Linked DNA regions of Homo sapiens: region 2 is linked to region 1. Evidence: promoter capture Hi-C in human tissues and cell types (Jung and others, 2019). All regions are on one chromosome and are shown on one strand. Each heading gives the region's core, a stretch centred on a gene start or on the middle of the fragment in contact. The rest is flanking DNA. Distances are from core to core; before and after follow the strand shown. Region 1 holds the start of STAB1 (stabilin 1). Region 2 overlaps PBRM1 (polybromo 1).

What was found. The method cuts DNA at HindIII sites, captures the fragments that hold promoters and counts their contacts. A contact is called where the count stands out against the background at its distance.
Region 2: a fragment that was not itself captured here is called in contact with the fragment with the promoter of STAB1 in region 1 in 2 of the 25 tissues and cell types used here (aorta and liver).

What each region holds. Positions count from the first base shown.
Region 1 is chr3:52,492,121-52,497,673 of GRCh38, reverse strand. STAB1 (stabilin 1) reads right to left here and starts at 2,336. Exons shown (of 69, transcript NM_015136.3): 1 at 2,183-2,336. The coding sequence starts at 2,260. NISCH (nischarin) reads right to left here. Exons shown (of 21, transcript NM_007184.4): 21 at 4,606-5,553. The coding sequence ends at 5,192. The HindIII fragment of the contact is 11,021 bases long and covers 1-5,553 here.
Region 2 is chr3:52,650,291-52,655,843 of GRCh38, reverse strand. It overlaps PBRM1 (polybromo 1), which reads left to right. Exons shown (of 32, transcript NM_001405607.1): 7 at 4,034-4,102. Among named protein-coding and RNA genes, the nearest start is that of PBRM1, 33 kb to the left of the region's middle. The HindIII fragment of the contact is 3,551 bases long and covers 458-4,008 here.

The sequences.
Region 1 (5,553 bases), core at 1,087-3,586:
TGGGAGGCCGAAGAGGGTAGATCACCTGACATCAGGAGTTCGAGACCAGGCTGGCTAACATGGAGAAACCCTGTCTCTAATAAAAACACAAAAATTAGCCAAGTGTGGTGGTGTGCGCCTGTAGTCCCAGCTACTTGGGAGGCTGAGTCAGGAGAATCCCTTGAAGCTGGGAGGCAGAGGTTGCAGTGAGCTGAGATAGCGCCACTGTAATGCAGCCCGGACAACAGAGAGAGACACCATCTCAAAAAAAAAAAAAAAAAAAAAAAGGCATCGAATTCACATATAATCTATGCACATCCTCCCGTATACCTTAAGTCATCCTTAGACGACTTATAATACCGAATACAATGTAAATGCTATGTACATAGAAAAGTCTGAACATGGGGTTGGGCACGGTGGCTCACACCTGTAATCCCAGCACTTTGGGAGGCTGAGGCAGGTGGATTACCTGAGGTCAGGAGTTACAGACCAGCCTGGTCAACATGGTGAAACTAAAAATTCAAAAATTAGCTGGGTGTGGTGGCGGGCGCCTGTAATCCCAGTTCTCGGGAGGCTGAGGCAGGAGAATCGCTTGAACCTGGGAGGTGGAGATTTCACTGAGCCGAGATCACGCCACTGCCCTCCAGCCTGGGCTACAGAGCGAGACTCCACCTCAAAAGAAAAAAAGTCTGAACATGTTCAGTAGAGATGCCATTTTATTTCCTGAATATTTTCAATCCAGGGTTGGTTGAACCCAAGTACAGGGTGCACAGATACAGAGGGCCAACTGCACTTACAGTGGCTCTCGGCTATGCAGGGTGCTGGGATAGAGGCCACGTAGCTGTGTTAGAGTGGCCAGCACTGCTGCAGCCCCATCCACAAGGAGTGGTCAGAGCCATAGGTCTCTGACAAGGAAAAAACTCGAATCTGAGGCCCCTCACTGACCTCTGTCCTCACTGCCCAGAGCATGAGGAGGTGGCGGAGGCCTTTGAAATTCCCTTGCATGGTACACAGGGGGAAACTGAGTTAAGGGGAGGGCAGGAGCTTACCTGCAGGGCTCTCAGCACAGCCCTGGAACCCTTGGCTCTTCCCCCATCACTGTCGCCTTCTCAGCCTCATATCTTCCTGTCCCCAGCCCTGGCCTGGTCCTGAAGCTGGTGAGGCCCTTCTCCCTGCTGCCTCTCTGAGGGACCACAGGCATCCAAGAGAAAGCGCCTGATGGTGGCAGGGGGCCTAGGCCCCTGGCTGGACTGCCTGTGGGATCCTGGGCAAGTCCTCCCCGCTCTGGACTTTAGTCTGGCCATCTGTGCCATGGGGATAGTGGTTGCTGCTCCAGGAGGCAGACACGCTCAGCCTCACAGGAGAGAGACTACCCCCATCACCAGGGTGGGAGGCTCTTCCAGAAGCTCCCAGAGGCCCCTACCATGGGGCCTGAGCAGACCTGCAGCCAGGAGCCTGTCACAGGGACCTGACCGAGGGGCTGGCTGTGGCTGCATACCAGGACCCTGTCTGCTCGCCAGCACACACGGATGGCCATCACAGGCAGGGGTTTGGAGCATGGCTTTAGAGTGGGAATGGCCTGTCCCCATCATCCTAGGGCTTCGGGTTCCTCACGAGGAGGACAGGAGGAGTTGCCCCGAGGCTGTGAGGATTCAAGGGGACCTGCCCGGGGCTGTGGCTGCTCTGTGGCAGCTCTGAGGCTGAAGTGTGTCCTTGCCAGCTGCTCATAACCCCGGACACTAAGGGTGAGTGACTCATTCTGCTTCCCGGTACTCTTGGGGCTGGACACAGGCACACACATGTGCACACACTTGCCCCACGTGAATCTGTAGTCCTCGGGGGTTGGAGGTGATCACATCTTCAACCCCCAGGTGAGGGCCACATAAGACCTGGGCCTCCGTCTGGGCCAGAAGGGCAGGACAGGCCTGCCTCTGTACACTTCAGCTGCACGCTGGGGAGCCCCGGCCCCGCATAGTCAGAGGAGGGTGGGCTGACACACCCCTGAACCCTGGGTGGCTGGACGCAGACCTCAGACTGGGGAGGTGGGCACAATAGCCAGCCCCCAGGCCTGCTAAGAGGCCAGACAGGCGCCAGCTGCGGTTTCTCCCCAGGCCCCTGCCCCTCCATGTCAGTCCCTCCCTGTTCCCACCGCTGGCCGGCAGGGCCCAGACGCCGTGTGCCCCTGCGACTGGCTCACACTTACCTGCCCCCTGACGAAGCTGAAGCCTGCCAGGCAGAAGGCCAGGAGGCAGAGTGGGAGGAGGCCCCGGGGCCCCGCCATGGCTGGTGGGCACGCTGTCCAGGACAGAGTCGGGGCGTAGGGAATGAGCTCTAGGAGGCAGGCACAGCACAGGCAGGCGGGACGGGGCGGGCAGTGGCCTTAAAAGCAGCCCGGAGGCCCCGCCAGCTCACCCCCACAGGAACCCGCCAGGATTTCCTCCTGCATATCAGCAGCCTGCAGGCGGAAGGGAAGGTGCTGGCCACTGACCCCCCATGGGCGGCCTGAGCCCTGCTCGGGGCTTCCCGGCTGGGACCCTCCTGGCATCACAACCTGGAAGTCCAGGCCACCATGAGCCCCGGGACCTGGGCTCTATCAGAGGTTCTGAAGCAAATCCAAAGGCACACGTGAACGAGTCCCCCGCCTGCGAGCCCAGTGTGTTTCATTCAGAGGCTCCTGGGGTGCTGGTCGGCGGAAGGCAGGGCAGCCCCTGAATGGGTCTGTCTGTTCCTGCCTCCACCTTTCCAACTCCAGGGCGCTCATGGGGCTCTGACTCGCTACAGGCACCCTGCTAGCCCACCAGACCCACATCCCCTCACTAGCCCCAGCCACTCCTGAGCCGCTGGTCCTGCCCGCCAACCCCCATCCACCCTCCCTGCCTCCCTATCTGCCCTCCACTCAGCAGCCCATGCTCAGCCAGCTTGCTGCAGCACCTCCAAACCCCTCTCCAGCTGGCTGGTCTCTCTGAACTCTCCCCAGACAGGTCTGCTCCAGCCGCGCAGGCCTCTCTGCTCCTTCAGTGAGCTCTCCCGGCATGTGCTGCTACCCTAGATTGTCACACTCTGGCTCCTTCTCACAGGTGGTCTCAGGTCAAGGGCCACCACTTCAGAGCGCCTCCCTGGTCTCAGCCTGCAGGTGGCCCTGCACCTGGTTCACCTGGCAGCACCAGCCACCAGCTGACATTGGCTTGTTTCATTTGTCTCCCCTGGAACATTGGCTGTGGAAGAGTAGGGGCGCTGTCTGGCTGATTCGCACAGTGGATGCTCAATACACGTGTGCAGAAGGAATAAATGAATGGAGGTGGCTACTTTTATGATCCCTCTGTTACTGGTGGGGAAACTGAGGCTCAGAGGGGCTGGGTAGCTTGTCTGAGGTAATCAGTTTTCATATCCAATCCCAGGGCTACTGTCTGAAGCCACCACTGCCTGCACAGCCAGCACCCCCAAGAGGTGCAGTGGGCCCAGGCTGAGGGCCTCTGCGTGCCAGGGCTGCACGTGGTGGGCCTTGCCTCCAGTTGTCACTACCCCCAACTGCAGACGGCGTAACAGTTGGGGAGACAGGAGTGGGCCAGAGCCCGGTGGCCATCTGTAAATGCTTTGGTAAAGGCCAGGTTGGGGAAAGTTTCTCCTCCCCAGCACACCTCCACTCCCATCAGTTTGGAGGGGCCTTCAGGCAGGCCTGAGATCTGGCTGGGATGGGGGTTGCAAGGGGAAACCCTCCCCACATTCCCCACACCCACAGTCTTCCTGGGGGTGAAGGGTCCTCCAGGCAGGACCCCCACTCTGCTGGCACCAAGGGAAACGGGGGAACAGAAGCAGGCCTGGGACCCAGGCTGGCCACGCCACCCACCTCTCCACAGCCCTGCCTGGCCTGGCTGCCCCAAGGTCCTGGGGACTGAGGCTCCTGGCTGGGCCAGGATGAGTTATGTGGGGCTCATAGGCCCTGCTCTGGCAGCAGGAATGGGGTTGGGGAAGAGTGTGGCATGGGGTTGGCTACCAAAATCCCAGGTCCTACCTCAGCAGGCTCCCTGAAGCAACCCTCAGGGAGGGGCCCATGAGCCTCATGTTTCAGGGACATGAAGACAGACACAGATGGGTATGTGCCCCTCCCTCCACTGTCCACCACCTGGGTCCACCTCCCCACAGACCTCCCCTGCTGCCATTCAAGGGCCACCTTGGTGAGATGCCCCGGCCCCCACCAGCCACCTCAGACTCTGGGATCTCTCTGTCCTCCTCGCCCCTCCCCCACTCTCAACAGGGGTTGTGAAACAGGTGGGGTTGGGCCCAGGGGTGACTGACACATAAGACCTGCAGGACAGCCTGAAGAGGGTGGCATGCCCCGCACCCAGGCAGAGGGGCAGCGGCTGGTGTGTCAGGGGTGCCCTGAGGAGTTTCTTGTTTGCCCTGCGCTCATGGTTTAGCCACAGCCCAGCATGGCACTGTCCAGAGAGGCCATGGCCCTGTCATGCCTCCCATGTTCCAAGAAGCATCTGGCTCCTGGAGGGCTGCTCCTTCCTTTCCCCCAACCCCTCACCCTCCTGTCTCCAGGGCACCCTCCCTCCCCCATGTGACCACGCCCTGGACGGAAGCCCTGCTGGGATCCCAGTGACCCTTGGTTTAGAAGATGCAGACGGTGTCAAACTCTGCTTTATTGGAATAGAGAATACAGGCAGCAGGAATCACGCTTGGTGCTGGCAGCTCCAGGTCCCCTGCCCCCACGGGCTCTCCCACTTGTCTGGATCAGGGGAGACCTCCACTTTGAAGAACAATATGGGGTGGGAGCTTCCAATGTGCATTCTGCTACCAGCCTCAGGATTAGCAGCAAGATGCCAACAGCAACAGCAACAGCAACAGCAACAGCAACAGCAACAAAGGACTGGACTCGACACTTCAGGAAAGGACGTGTAGAAGAGAAAGTCAGACCCACAGTGTCACGTGTTAACAACGGTCCCACAACAGCAGACACGACACTGGTGTGCACGGCTGTACCACCTGTGGGAGGCTGACAGCACACCGACAGCCCTGAGGGGCCCGGCATTCTCACTCCCAACATGAGAAAGAATTAACACAACACACACACATGTTCACATTCTCTGCGAGGACAGTCAAATTAAGGTACCAAAGGGAGGATAAAACATTTTTAGAGAACACAAAAGCCTGCTGCCCTGCCCCAGTAGGCGTCAGGCTGGACACGACAGGCTGGCTGTGGCCTGGGCTAGCCGGTGAGCTCGACAGGCAGCTCACGGCCACACAGGGCCTCCCACTGGCGAGCCAACAGCGAGATGAGCTTCTCTCTGCTCTCAGCACTGGGGACAAACACCTGCCACTGGACTTCACGGCCCTGGCTGGCTCTAGCCGGGCCACCTGGCACCTCCCCAAAGTGGTCCAGGGTGACACTGCCCATGAGGTCATGACCTTGCACGTCATCGAAGACGAGGGTGAGGGCCTGCGGGTAGGTCTGGTAGCCCATGAGCACTCGGTCCAGGTCCCGGACGCGGCGGCCATCGTCCAGCCGGTACCTGTCTCTCTGCGGCGGCTCTTTGGCAAACTCGGGCAGTGGGTAGTGGACACAGTCCT
Region 2 (5,553 bases), core at 984-3,483, 160 kb before region 1:
ATGAGTAGCATGCAGCTTTCCTCATCAGTCATTGGCAAGACTATAGTTATTTAAAGGTGTGTCTTGACTAGCTATAGGATAGTTACAACATTAGAAATAAAGCAACTGACCACTGCTGTCCTATGTGTGAATCTTACTAGAAAGATGTAATTATTAATATTGGTCATATGACTTAAAACTTTAAGAAAAGGAGAAAACAGTATGATGATTCTCTAGAGAATTAAACATGGAATTACCATATGATCCAGCAGTTCCACTTTAGATATATACTCCAAAGAAAGTGAAAGCAGGGTATTGAAGAGATATTTGTATACCCATATTCATAGCAGCATTATTCACAATAGCTAAAAATGGAAGCAACTCAGGTGTCCATCAGTGAATGAATGTATATGTGACATATACATACAGTGGCATATTATTTGGCGTTAAAAAGGAAGGAAATTCTGAAACATCCTACATGGATGAACTCTAAAGACATTATTTTAAGCAAAATGAGCCAGTCACAAAAGGACAAATACTGTATGATTTCTTATATGAGGTACCTAGAATACTCAAAATCTTAGAGACATAAAGTTAGAATGGTGGTTGCCAGGGGCTGGAGGGAATGGGGAGTTGTTTAATATGTACAGAGTTTCCATTTTGCAAGATTAAAAAGTTCTGGAGGTGGATGTCAGTGATAGTTGCACAGCAGTGTGAGTGTACCTCATGCCACAGAACTGTACACTTAAAAATGGCAAATTTCATGTTACTACATGAAATTTATTTTATTACAGTAAAAAAAATTATAAAAGAAGTACAGGATAGGTGTAGTGACCCACACCTGTAATCCCAGAGCTTTGAGAGGCCAACATAGCTGAGACTCTGTCTCTACAAAAAAAATTTTTTTAATTAGCTAGTCATGGTGGTGTGCACCTGTAGTCACAGCTGTTTGGTGGGGCTGAGTTTGGAGGATCACTTGAGCCTAGGAGTTCAAGGCCGCAGTGAGCTGTGATCATGCCACTTCACTCCAACCTAGGCAACAGAAAGAGACCCCGTCTCTTTTTCTCTCTCTCGCTCTCTGTCAACTCTCATTCACACATGCACACATACACACAAAATAGAAGTACTGTCTTCGCTCAAGATTTATTCTTACCCTGCAGGAGATAATCAGTGATGGTCAAATCAACAACAGTGATATGGGGCAATGAAACATCAATAATTAGTTCCCCCCATTCCCCCTTCAAGGTCACCTTGAAGGAGCTGGTTGGGAAAAGCAGGTTTCTATTGGTCTCTCAGGGTGTGACAGTTTGAAAGACAACAAGGATTGACAGCTGAAGGGGCAGGACAGTTTTCACCTTTCCTTAGTAAGTCCGTCCCAAGCAAGCTGGCTGCATGGGAGAGATAGATTGGGAATTTGTGGGATTGGATGACTTTGAATTACTTTGTACTCCATGCTGGGTGGCCTTGCCATAATTTGTCCTCTGAACTTTCTCTCAGAAGTAGAACTGGTGAAGAGAAGGGGCAGCAATGGAGATTCATCCAAGTAAAGGAAGGAGTAGGGTTAAGAAAGTAGTGGTAAGCTTAGGGGACAGATGAGATAAAACAACACTGAGATAATCTGTTCAGCCCAGTAACTGAGTGAAGGCTGTGGCTTTCTGCTTTTGTTGTTGCTGCGTGGGCTTCAGTAGGGTTTGAACAGGTGGGAAGAGTTGGGAGAGCACAATCTGACTTCCCCTGAACCTCTCCCATCTGATAAGACCAACTTTTGATATTTGGGCAACTTCAGTTATTTCCTCCAAGGAAGAAAATCTGTAGGAAAGCCTGAGTGCAGTGAGTGATTCTAGGTTGTTGTGAAAGCTTCAAGGACATTCCTCAACATGTTCAATTTCTTGGGATGACCTAGTATTTGATAAATCAGAAGTTGCTAATAATTTTGCTTCATTTCTTTTCTTTTTTCAAGACAGTCTTGCTCTGTCACCCAGGCTGGAGTGCAGTGGCGTGATCTCAGCCCACTGCAACCTCTGCCTCCCAGGTTCAAGCGATTCTCCTGCCTCAGCCTCCTGAGTAGCTGGAATTACAGGCACCCGCCACCACACCCAGCTAATTTTTGTATTTTTAGTAGAGACGGGGTTTCACCATATTGGCCAGGCTGGTCTTGAACTCCTGACCTCGTGATCTGCCCGTCTCGGCCTCCCGAAGTGCAGGGATTACAGGCATGAGCCACCATGCCTGACCAGAATTTTGCTTCATTTCTTTCTTTCTTTTTTTTTTTTTTGAGACAGAATTCTGCTCTTCTTGCCCAGGCTGGAGTGCAATGGAGCAATCTCAGCTCACTGCAACCTCCACCTCCCAGGTTCAAGCGATTCTCCTGCCTCAGCCTCCCAAGTAGCTGGGATTACATGCATGCACCAACATACCAGGCTAATTTTGAATTTTTAGTAGAGATGGGGTTTCACCATGTTGGCCAGGCTAGTCTCGAACTCCTGACTTCAGGTGATCCACCCACCTCAGCCTCCCAAAGTGCTGGGATTACAGGCGCGAGCCACCATGCCCAGCCGTGCTTCATTTCTTTAACAAAGTTTCATTCAAAAGGTATTTTGTTTTGAAAAAACTTACTTTGACTGAAATAAGCAGAAGCATCAAGTTAAACATGAAGCTAACAAATTTTGCAACCTGACTTCTTACAGATCCTTATGAAAGTTTATGTGAATATTATATAATAACGTTATTTAGATTGCAAAATTAAAAGAGCTTGTAACAAACTCCTAAAGAGCATTTCTTCTACTTTATTTCTAGGCATAGATATCTTGGGACCTTAAATGAAAAATTGTATAATTCTGTGAATTTAGAATTTTTGTTTGTTTTTTGAGACGGAATCTTGCTCTGTTGCACAGGCTGGAGTACAATGGCGTGATCTCGGCTCACTGCAACCTCCATCTCCTGCGCTCAAGTGATTGCCCTGCCTTAGCCTCCTGAGTAGCTGGGATTACAGGCGCACACCACCATGCCTGGCTAATTTTTGTATTTTTAATGGAGACAGGGTTTCGCTATGTTGGCCAGGTTGGTCTTGAACTTCTGACCTCAAGTGATCCAGCTGCCTCAGCATCCCGAAGTGCTGGGATTACAGGTGTGAGCCACCGCGCCTTGCCGAATTTAGATTATTTATTTTTTTTTTGAGATGGAGTCTTGCTGTGCCGCCCAGGCTGGAGTGCAGTGGCATGATCTCGGCTCGCTGCAACCTCTGCCTCTTGGGTTCAAGCGATTCTCCTCCCTCAGCCTCCAGAGTAGCTGGGACTATAGTTGTATGCCACCATGCCCAGCCAATTTTTTTTCTATTTTTAGTAGAGACAGGGTTTCACCACGTTAGCCAGGATGGTCTCAATCTCCTGACCTCGTGAACCACCCGCCTCGGCCTCCCAAAGTTCTGGGATTACAGGTGTGAGCCACCGTGCCCTGCCTAGAATTTTTTTTTTTTTTTTTGAGACGAAGTCTCTTTCTTGTCCCCCAGGCTGGAGTATAATGGCACGATCTCAGCTCACTGCAATCTCTGCCTCCCAGGTTCAAGCGATCCTCTTGCCTCAGCCTCCTGAGTAGCTGGGATTACAGGTGCCTGCCACCACGCCCGGCTAATTTTTGTATTTTTAGTAGAGATGGGGTTTCACCATGTTGGCCAGGCTGGTCTTGAACTCCTGACCTCAGGTGATCCACCTGCCTCGGCCTCCCAAAGTGCTGGGATTGCAGGCGTGAGCTACCGCACCCGGCCCCAGCCTAGAATTTTTTAAAACATTAAATTTTATGCTAGTTGCATAATAACACTCAAAATACCAAGTTTTAACTCCTAAGTCATGCTGTTGGATAGATCATGAAGCTTCTTAAGATTAAATTCTTTATGGTTCTGATATAATAAATGTGCTGTACAGCCATGTCTTTAGTCTTGAATCTCACAAAGCTGCTTCACTGGTTGTTTGAACAACAGATTGTCAATGTACTTCCTTCTCTTTTCATTAGCTGAATAGTTTAACTTATTGAGCATGCCTGGTTTTTTGTCTTCCAGCAATATCCAGATTATTATGCAATAATTAAGGAGCCTATAGATCTCAAGACCATTGCCCAGAGGATACAGGTATGAAGATGACCATAAGTAAATGATTGTGGTTTAGAGCAGATTGGCCTATGATCTTTCCTAGAAGCTTTTAGAAAACAGAGAAGCTAGTTGTCTCTGTAAGGGGTTATTAGCAAATCATGTAAATAAATTAAAATAGTGTTACTGATTGTAGCTTTGGATTGCATCTTAGGACAAAAATTAAAACACATTGGTTACCGACATTTCTGATTATAAAAGATACATTTGTGACAAAAGATTTATTTCATTTTTAATTTTTAAATTTTTTATTTTTGTGGGTGCATAGCAGGTGTATGTATTTATGGGGTACATGAAATTTTGATACTGGCATACAGTGCATAATAATCACATCAGGGTAGATGGGGTAACCTGTTGTTTATTTTTATCTGCTTCCAAATAGCTTTAGGATACGTTAGAATAAAAGCTACCCACAACGGATGTTAGAGTGGAAGGTCAGTGGAATTAGATACTACTTTTTTCTCTTTGGCCCTCTCTACCCTACCCCTTCACTGTATCCCTGGCAGTAAATAGTGGCAACTAAACACTCACATAGACTTGCTATGTACCTAGCACTGTTTTAAGTGCTTTATGTGTATTAGCTAATTAATTCTTAAAACTCCACAGAGTAGTATTGTTATTATTCCCATTTTACAAGTTAGAAAACTGAAGCACAGAAGTGTTAAGTAACTTGCCCAAATCACCGCCTAGGAAGGAGAACTAGGATTTGAATCCAGACAGTCTAGCTGTAGTCTGTGTTCTCAACCCTTACACTTACTGTTTCTGTACAGAGTAGGTGCTTAATAAATATTAATTGTGTGACTGAGTGACTAGGATTTAAAATTTGATTATTAGAAGTAAGGGAAAGTATAGGGAAAAAGAGCTAAATTGTACCAGAAATTGAGTATTTAGAGTAGAACTGATATGGTTGTTTTTCTAGCTCTACTACTTAATCAGCTATGTCACTTTGGTCAGGTGATTTGCCTGCTTCCTCTGCTGTATGTTGCGTGTAGTATCACTACTTTGCAGAGTCATAGAGGTTGGTGATAATATAGATAAAGCATCTCACATAGAACCTACAGCATGAGGTCCTCATAAATGTGAGTTACTGATCTTCCCAGGATAAGAAGGGTTTGCTGCTCCCAGGAGGTAAGGCAAAAAGGAAAACAGTGTGTTACATAGTTTCATTGAGAAATGAGACTGATAGCCACTGTGGTTTGCCAGGAAGGAGAAACTTCTTTGACTTTAAACTCTAAGAGAGTAGTAAAGAGTAACAGTGTTTACTTACTAGTACCACAGATAAATTTTCACAGAATGATAAAATACAGATTCCCTAATGTATCATCTTTTTTTTTTTTTAGGGTTTTTTTTTTTTTTTTTTTTGAGACAGTCTTGCCCTGTCACCCAGGCTGGAGTGCAGTGGCATGATCTCACCTCACTGCAAACCTCCACCT